Linked DNA regions of Homo sapiens: region 1 is linked to region 2. The links are contacts of gene promoters, found by promoter capture Hi-C in blood cells and fetal thymus (Javierre and others, 2016). All regions are on one chromosome and are shown on one strand. The core of a region is centred on a gene start or on the middle of the fragment in contact, and the rest is flanking DNA. Distances in the headings are between cores, read along the strand shown.

What was found. The method cuts DNA at HindIII sites, captures the fragments that hold promoters and counts their contacts. A CHiCAGO score of 5 or more calls a contact.
Region 1: a contact is called between a fragment that was not itself captured here and the fragment with the promoter of PKD2L2 in region 2, in 1 of 17 cell types (total B cells). The highest score is 5.1, in total B cells.

The regions. Positions count from the first base shown.
Region 1 is chr5:138,511,538-138,515,225 of GRCh38, reverse strand. It overlaps ETF1 (eukaryotic translation termination factor 1), which reads left to right. Exons shown (of 11, transcript NM_004730.4): 5 at 1,520-1,658; 6 at 2,272-2,462; 7 at 3,622-3,688. Among named protein-coding and RNA genes, the nearest start is that of ETF1, 30 kb to the left of the region's middle. The HindIII fragment of the contact is 182 bases long and covers 1,300-1,481 here.
Region 2 is chr5:137,888,207-137,891,849 of GRCh38, reverse strand. It overlaps PKD2L2 (polycystin 2 like 2, transient receptor potential cation channel), which reads right to left and starts at 2,393. Exons shown (of 15, transcript NM_001300921.2): 1 at 2,328-2,393; 2 at 1,268-1,369. The coding sequence starts at 2,358. It overlaps PKD2L2-DT (PKD2L2 divergent transcript), which reads left to right and starts at 2,531. Exons shown (of 4, transcript XR_948815.3): 1 at 2,531-2,703; 2 at 3,562-3,643. The HindIII fragment of the contact is 1,963 bases long and covers 1,043-3,005 here.

The DNA.
Region 1 (3,688 bases), core at 141-2,640, 620 kb before region 2:
GAAACTCCTGACCTCGAGTGATCCACCCACCTTGGCCTCTCAAAGTGCCATTGCAGGCATGAGCCACCACGCCCGGCCACAATATTCATGTCTTAATGCCAACTATCTAGCATGGTTTGTTAAAGATGGATTCTTAGTTGATCCATCTGCTTTCTAGTCAATTATTGAAGGGGCTATTTTCTTAAAATGGAATGGTAAGGCCAGGTGTTGTGGCTCACACCTATGTAATCCCAGCACTTTGGGAGGCCAAAGAGGAGGATCAGTTTATAAAAATAAAATGGAATGGGTAACAATTTCTTACTTCCAAAGAGATTGTCCCCTGGCAATTAGAGATCAACTAAGTGTGTAGTATTCCGATTCCACTGTGAGAACTCTTATCTATGTATGTCCCAGGACTGTTTCAATATTTTCTCTTTGGGAAGGCATAAAGGGATATAAAGTTAACATAGAAGGAAGGTTTTCCTCATAAAACTCAGAATCATTAGCTGCAATACCTTTAAAGACATGCTGGCTCATGCCTGTAACCCCGGCACTTTGGGAGGCTAAGGCAGAAGGATCATTTGAGTCCAAGACTTCGAGGCTGCAGTGAGCTATGATGGCTACTGCACTCCAGCCTGGCCAGCAAAGTGAGACCCTGTCTCAAAAAAAAAAAAAAAAGGAACAAGTTAAAGTTTTTTTGTTTTTTGAGACAAGGTCTCTGGATCACCCAGGCTGGAGTACACTGGCACAATCTTGGCTCACTGCAACCTACACCTCCCAGACTAAAGCCTTTCCAAGTAGCTGGTAGGGACTACAGGCACGTGTCACCACAGCCACCTAATTTTTGTATTTTTTTGTAGAGACAGTGTTTCGCTATGTTGCCCAGGCCAGTCTCAAACTCCTGAGCTCAAGCCATCTGCCTGCCACAGCCTCCCATAGTGCTGGGATTACATGTGTGAGCCATCATACCCAGCTTAGAACTCTATATTATAAAACTGAAACTGTATCCATTGAGCAATAATTCCTTGTTCCCCCTTTTTTCCAGCCCCTGGCAACCACCATTTGACTTTTTGTCTCTGATTTTGATTACTCCAGGAACCTCATATAAGTGGAGTCATACAGTATTTGTCCTTTTTTGACAGGGTTATTTCACTTAGCATGTATTCAAGTTTCATCCCTGTTGTAGTGTGTTTCAAAATTTTCTTCCTTTTTGAGATTGAGTAGTATTAACTGCTGTATGTAATATTGCTATAAACATGGGCATACAGATATCTTTCTGGTTTTATATTTACATGCCCATGTCAAATGTGTTGAAAAGCTTCACATAGATATCATTCGTTATTTCCTTATTGGGTTCAAATTTGTCCATAAGAGTTACATGTTTATAACTGAAGTCTATAAATTATTCCGTAGAAGGTTTTCCCACAGTGCTAATAGCATGGTGAGTGGAGTGAAAGGGCTTGTATATATCCTTTCAGAGTTTTTTTGACCTTAGCAAAGCTTTGGGATTCACCGTGTGGTACTTGTGTTTGCTTTTCAGGCTCTTACAGCACTACTTTCAGATGATAGCAAGTTTGGATTCATTGTAATAGATGGTAGTGGTGCACTTTTTGGCACACTCCAAGGAAACACAAGAGAAGTCCTGCACAAATTCACTGTGGATCTCCCAAAGAAACACGGTAATACAGGAGGAGAACATGAACCCACTTACTTTGTGTCTAGCAATAAGAAAACAGTATGGTGGGCCGGGTGCGGTGGCTCACGCCTGTAATCCCAGCACTTTGGGAGGCCGAGCCGGGTGGATCACGAAGTCAGAAGTTCGAGACCAGCCCGGCCCTGTCTCTACTAAAAATACAAAAATGTGACGGGCGCCTGTAATCCCAGCTACTTGTGAGGCTGAGGCAGGAGAATTGCTTGAACCCGGGAGACGGAGGTTGCATTGAGCCAAGATTGCGCCACTGCACTCCAGTCTGGGCGACAGAGTGAGACTCTGTCTCAAAAAAGAGAGAGAGAGAAAACAGTATGATGTGAGGGGAGTGAATCCAGATGATGGGGAGAGAAGCCTCCTGTAATGACTGGTGCCTCATTGGTACTTACAGCTCCTCTCTTGACATAGACTTAGTAGTCGCTCTCTGAAAACAAGTAGCAGTTTATGCTGAACGTTTAGTTAAGGGAATGGTGATTTTTCTTTGTCCTTTTCTTAGATGATGACATGATTATTTTATTTTTAATTTGAAGACATCTTGTAGTTCTTAATAATTGCCTTTTTCTCTTGCTACTTTTGTGTCAAAGGTAGAGGAGGTCAGTCAGCCTTGCGTTTTGCCCGTTTAAGAATGGAAAAGCGACATAACTATGTTCGGAAAGTAGCAGAGACTGCTGTGCAGCTGTTTATTTCTGGGGACAAAGTGAATGTGGCTGGTCTAGTTTTAGCTGGATCCGCTGACTTTAAAACTGAACTAAGTCAATCTGATATGTTTGATCAGGTAAGTAAGAAGTAGATGCTTTATTATGTAAGACCCTAGGTAGGAGTAGGTGAGTCCTCTGTGTGAGCACTGGAACAGACACATCTTTTTAAAATTCCTTGGGTTAAAAACTTGCCTCTGAGTTAAACAGCAGGTTTACAGATGTTTATCAGGAAACATTCCCCTGTGCTTTTCTGAACCCCTTCTCTTCTGAAATCAACCATTTTTAGGTGGGCTTCTTATGGATCCTGTGGAGGTTCCTTGTTTAGTTGGGTTGTCAGAATTGGCTGTAGAATGGAGTTTGATTTCAAAGAAACTAAAACCTGTTCCTTATTTTCTTTTTCTGATTTATTCTTGGAGATACATAGCAGCAAAGCTCTCAGCAGTATGACAGCTGATTCAGCCTAAAGCATTTAAAGCACATTTTATAACATGGGCTCAGCCATAATACACTTTCAAGATCTGGAGGAAGTAGCCTTATGGTAGAAGGTCCACCAAAGAAATTGCCTTTAAAAAAAAAAAAAAATATATATATATATATATATATATATATATATATTTTTTTTTTTTTTTTTTTTTTTTTTTTTGAGACTGGGTCTGGCTATCTTGCCTAGGCTGGAGTGCAGTGGCAATCATGGCTCACTGCAGCCTCGATCTCCCAGGCTTAAGTGATCCTCCCAGCTCAGCCTCCCAAGTAGCTGGGACTACAGGGATGTGTCACCATGCCCAACTAATTTTTGTACTTTTTGGTAGAGACAGGGTTTCACCATGTTGCCTAGGCTGGTCTCAGAATTCCTGGACTCAAGCTGTCTGCCTCTCCTAGCTTCCCAAAGTGCTGGGATTATAGGTGTGAGCCACCCTCCCCAGCCCGTCTTAACCTCTACTACCTTATTTGGCAGGAGCCAGTGGTCCCCCCTTTCCTCCACAATAACTTATTTTTGTTTGCACTTAATGAGTTGTCCTATAGTAGGTCTAATAAAATGTGTGATATAATTGGCAGTGCTGTTCACTTTAAGAGCAGCTTTTGATTAAATTGGGCTCCTTCCCCATATTTAGACTTCAGTGATCATAATGCTGAGCTTTGCATACCATTAAGAGTTAGTGGGTTTGAGTAAAGGTGTTTTAATAATATTTTAAATAAGTACCAGTAAGTACTAATAATATTTTTTTTGTGTGTTAGAGGTTACAATCAAAAGTTTTAAAATTAGTTGATATATCCTATGGTGGTGAAAATGGATTCAACCAAG
Region 2 (3,643 bases), core at 1,144-3,643:
TAGCCGGGCGTGGTGGCACAGGCCTGTAATCCCAGCTACTCCGGAGGCTGAGGCAGGAGAATCGCTTGAACTCAGGAGGTGGAGGTTGCAGTGAGCCACTGTACTCCAGCCTGGGTGACAGAGCGAGACTGTCTCAAAAAAGAAAAAAAAAAGAAAAAAAATCACATTATAAATGGAGATTCAGGTTGCTGTATTATATTAAAAAAAGTGTTCTTTAAAAATCTCTGAATAATGGGATTATAAATGATCTTTTTACTTACATTTTTACATTTTCCAAATGTTCTGTAGTAAGCATGTAGTTTTCATAACCAAGCTTTTATAAAGCAGTCTAAGATATCTTAATTTATAAAGTTGCCTACAGTTATCTTTTTTTTTTTTTTCCTTGGGACAGGGTCTCAGCCTGTCACCCAGGCTGAAGTGCAGTCGTTGCAATCACAGTTCACTGCAGCCTCGACCTCCTGTGCTCAAGCAATCCTCCACCTCAGCCTTCTCAGTAGCTAGGACTACAGGGGTGTGCCACCACACCTGGCTAATTTTATAGTTGTCTTTTCAATCAAGAGCAGACTCAAACTCACCCCTACAACACCAATTAATTACTTAATTGCTATACAATTGCCAGTGTGTAGCACATACCAACATGAGACAATACTGCCAGTGAGCTTTCATCTACTGTTATGTTGGGTGCCATCGACAAATGCTCTTTAATACTCCTCTTTGCATATTAAGCCAATGCTATTGACCCACAGGTAGGAGGAATGCAGGTTGAGATGTTTTCCCAGTCCTCCTTAATTATTTGCATTGACTCAGCACAAACTATTTTTTTAACTGCAATAGGTCAGTGAAAAGAACCAAGCTAATGGCAGACACCAAGATGAACTTTGGCCTCATTTGTACTTTGATTTATGAAACTCAGCTGATGTGTCTATATGACTCTAAACAAAATCAAATTGCAGTTGCCAACCCAAGGGATGAATTATGCTCAAGACAGAACTGCCAAATGAAAGGAATAATTCTAATTCAGTCAGTATTGACTATGGAAGCTTCTTACATTTGCGATGTAAAATTTTGCCCCTTAAGAACTGAAAATAGTCAATTTCTAAATGAAATGAATCTAAATGAATTTAAGATTATGTTTAAACGTGTCACTGTATTTTGAGTTTTAGTAGCCTGACAGCCTGTGGTTTTGAAGTTTGTATGTTTTATTTTTCATCTCCACATTTTAACTTCTTAGTTCAAACAAACAGCATCTTTATATCTGTGTACTTACATATACATAGGTTTATTAAAAAAATAAAGTAGAGTAACAATTCCTGAAGTGTGGTTGTAATTTCTACTTCCTTTCTGTAATGCAACTTATGTTTCGAAGCCCCTGTGAGATATAAGACAAAATTTTTCTTTACATTATTATGTAATTTATAAGTGACAACAATGGAAAAACCACAGCCACTTTTAGTCCTTACACTGCGGGGAGGAAAGCTCCAATAGCTTCTGGCTATTTTTCAATTCTTAGTTTTACGAGGCAGGGATAATTTTTTTACTATATACTATTAATAACAGATTTTTTTTTTGAGACGGAGTCTAGCTCTGTCGCCAGGCTGGAGTTCAGTGACGCGATCTCGTCTCACTGCAGCCTCCGCCTCCCCGGTTCAAGCGATTCTCCTGCCTCAGCCTCCCGAGTAGCTGGGACTACAGGCGCGCGCCACCACACCCAGCTAATTTTCGTATTTTTAGTAGAGATGGGGTTTCACCATGTTGGCCAGGATGGTCTCGATCTCTTGACCTTGTGATCCGCCCGCCTCGGCCTCCCAAAGTGTTGGGATTACAGGCTTGAGCCACTGCGCCCGGCCACTAACAGATTTTATATCATGATGTCTTCTCGCCAGTCTTAAGATGAAAAAGCAAAATACGAAACAAGTAAAACCTCTCATCTGTCCTAACCGTTTTCTCCACCCTCAATACAGCTTCTTGGGAAGGCTGGTTTCTGCTGGACAGGGGAAAAACACCTCGGCTTGAATTCTGTCAAGGTCACGACTCCCCAGATCAACCAAGGACTTTAGAGACCGGCCTAGCGACGGTCACTCGACAGGTGACAACGCCCAGCTCGAGCCTCCGGCAAGAGGCGAGCGCCACCTCGCTCAGGGCTTCAGTTTTCCCGTCTGTGCAATGGGACCATCTGTCCCTCTCCGCTTCCCCAGGGGAGGCTGTGAGGGCTAAAGGTGTCGGCAGTCACATCTCTCAAACGAATTTGGGGCCGCAGAGTTCCTTTCAGGGTGTCTGGAACTGCCAAATCGCCCCTGTCCCTCCCACTCCTTAAGAGGACCCCTCACCGCCTCGGTGCCACCGTGACGCCTCAGCCATGGCGGACCTGCACTACACCGCCCGTTCGTTCGCCTGAGGCCGCGGCGCTTGCGCGCTAGTCTTGCGGCGCGCGCTGCCCGGCTCTGACGCCTGCGCGAGCCCCCAGCTCCTCCAGGGCGGCGAGCTACTCGACAAGTCGTCAGCGCGGCTGCGCCGCAGGAGCCCGGGAGGCCTTTCGCCCGAGGCGGGCTGCGGGCTGCTGGGGTCTGGTGCGGAGGGCCAACTTCTGGGAATAACCTGGCTGTGGGCTTAAAAATCGTAGTCATTCATTATCACGGGCTTCTCTCTCTCGAATACCTTTAACATTTATCGCCTTGTTAGTCTCCACATCCACCTCCGTGAAAGGTAGGTATTTTTGTCCTCATTTTAGGCCTGAAGAAACCGAGAAGCTGAGAAATGAAGTAATTCACTGGAAGTTGGGGCCAAGTCTTGGATGCCCAAGCCCAAATTCCTAACCGTGACCCTACGCTGCTGCTGCTGCTGCTACTTGCAGAAACTGGTTATTAACCGAGAGCTGTTGCTGGAAGTAGCTTCCACTCCCCTGCCCCCGTGATGTAAAAATAGATGAAAAACTCTGCAGTGATTATGTGAAAGGTCAGGCCGACACAGGAGTCCTGGGGCCCAGACCCACATCTGACCCAGAAGCTTTGCAAAGATGAGAAGGTTGGTAAACCAGCTATAGAAAAGGCCAAACTAATTTGGCTGTAAATTAAGGCAGCCAAAAGCCCTCCAGGATGTAAGACCAGGACGGATTCTCGTGTTGATAAAAAGGAAAATAAAATGGAATCCAGTCCAAAGGCCCCAGGGAAACCTGCAAAGAAAACCACTAACCAGTTTTGAAAGTAAAAGATAAAGCCACTTTTGTTATTTCCCTGAAAGAGATGTAGACTGCTGTCGATAAATGCTGTTTTATGTGTAGATAAAAAGCAAAACGGCCACACAGTAGTGAGGGTCAAAAACTACCATCGATGAGAGGAACAGGAGAGGCCTCGCAAAAGGCTGACAGCCAGTGAACTAGAAGCCCGAGAGGAAAAAAAGCTTTAGAATAGTTTTAACAAAAGGATTTGGGCTTTCCTGTACTGGGACTCTCAGCTGTTCACAAAATTATGCTTTCTAAAGTAACAGATTATCTGAAATTGAAATTATTAGAGGAAAAACACCCATATATAGGTAATCAAATTTACATAATTTTTTTTTTTTTAGAGATGGAGTCTCGCTATATTTCCCAGTCTGGCCTCAAACTCCTGATCTTAAGGGATCCCCAGCTCAACCTCTCCCAGCAGCT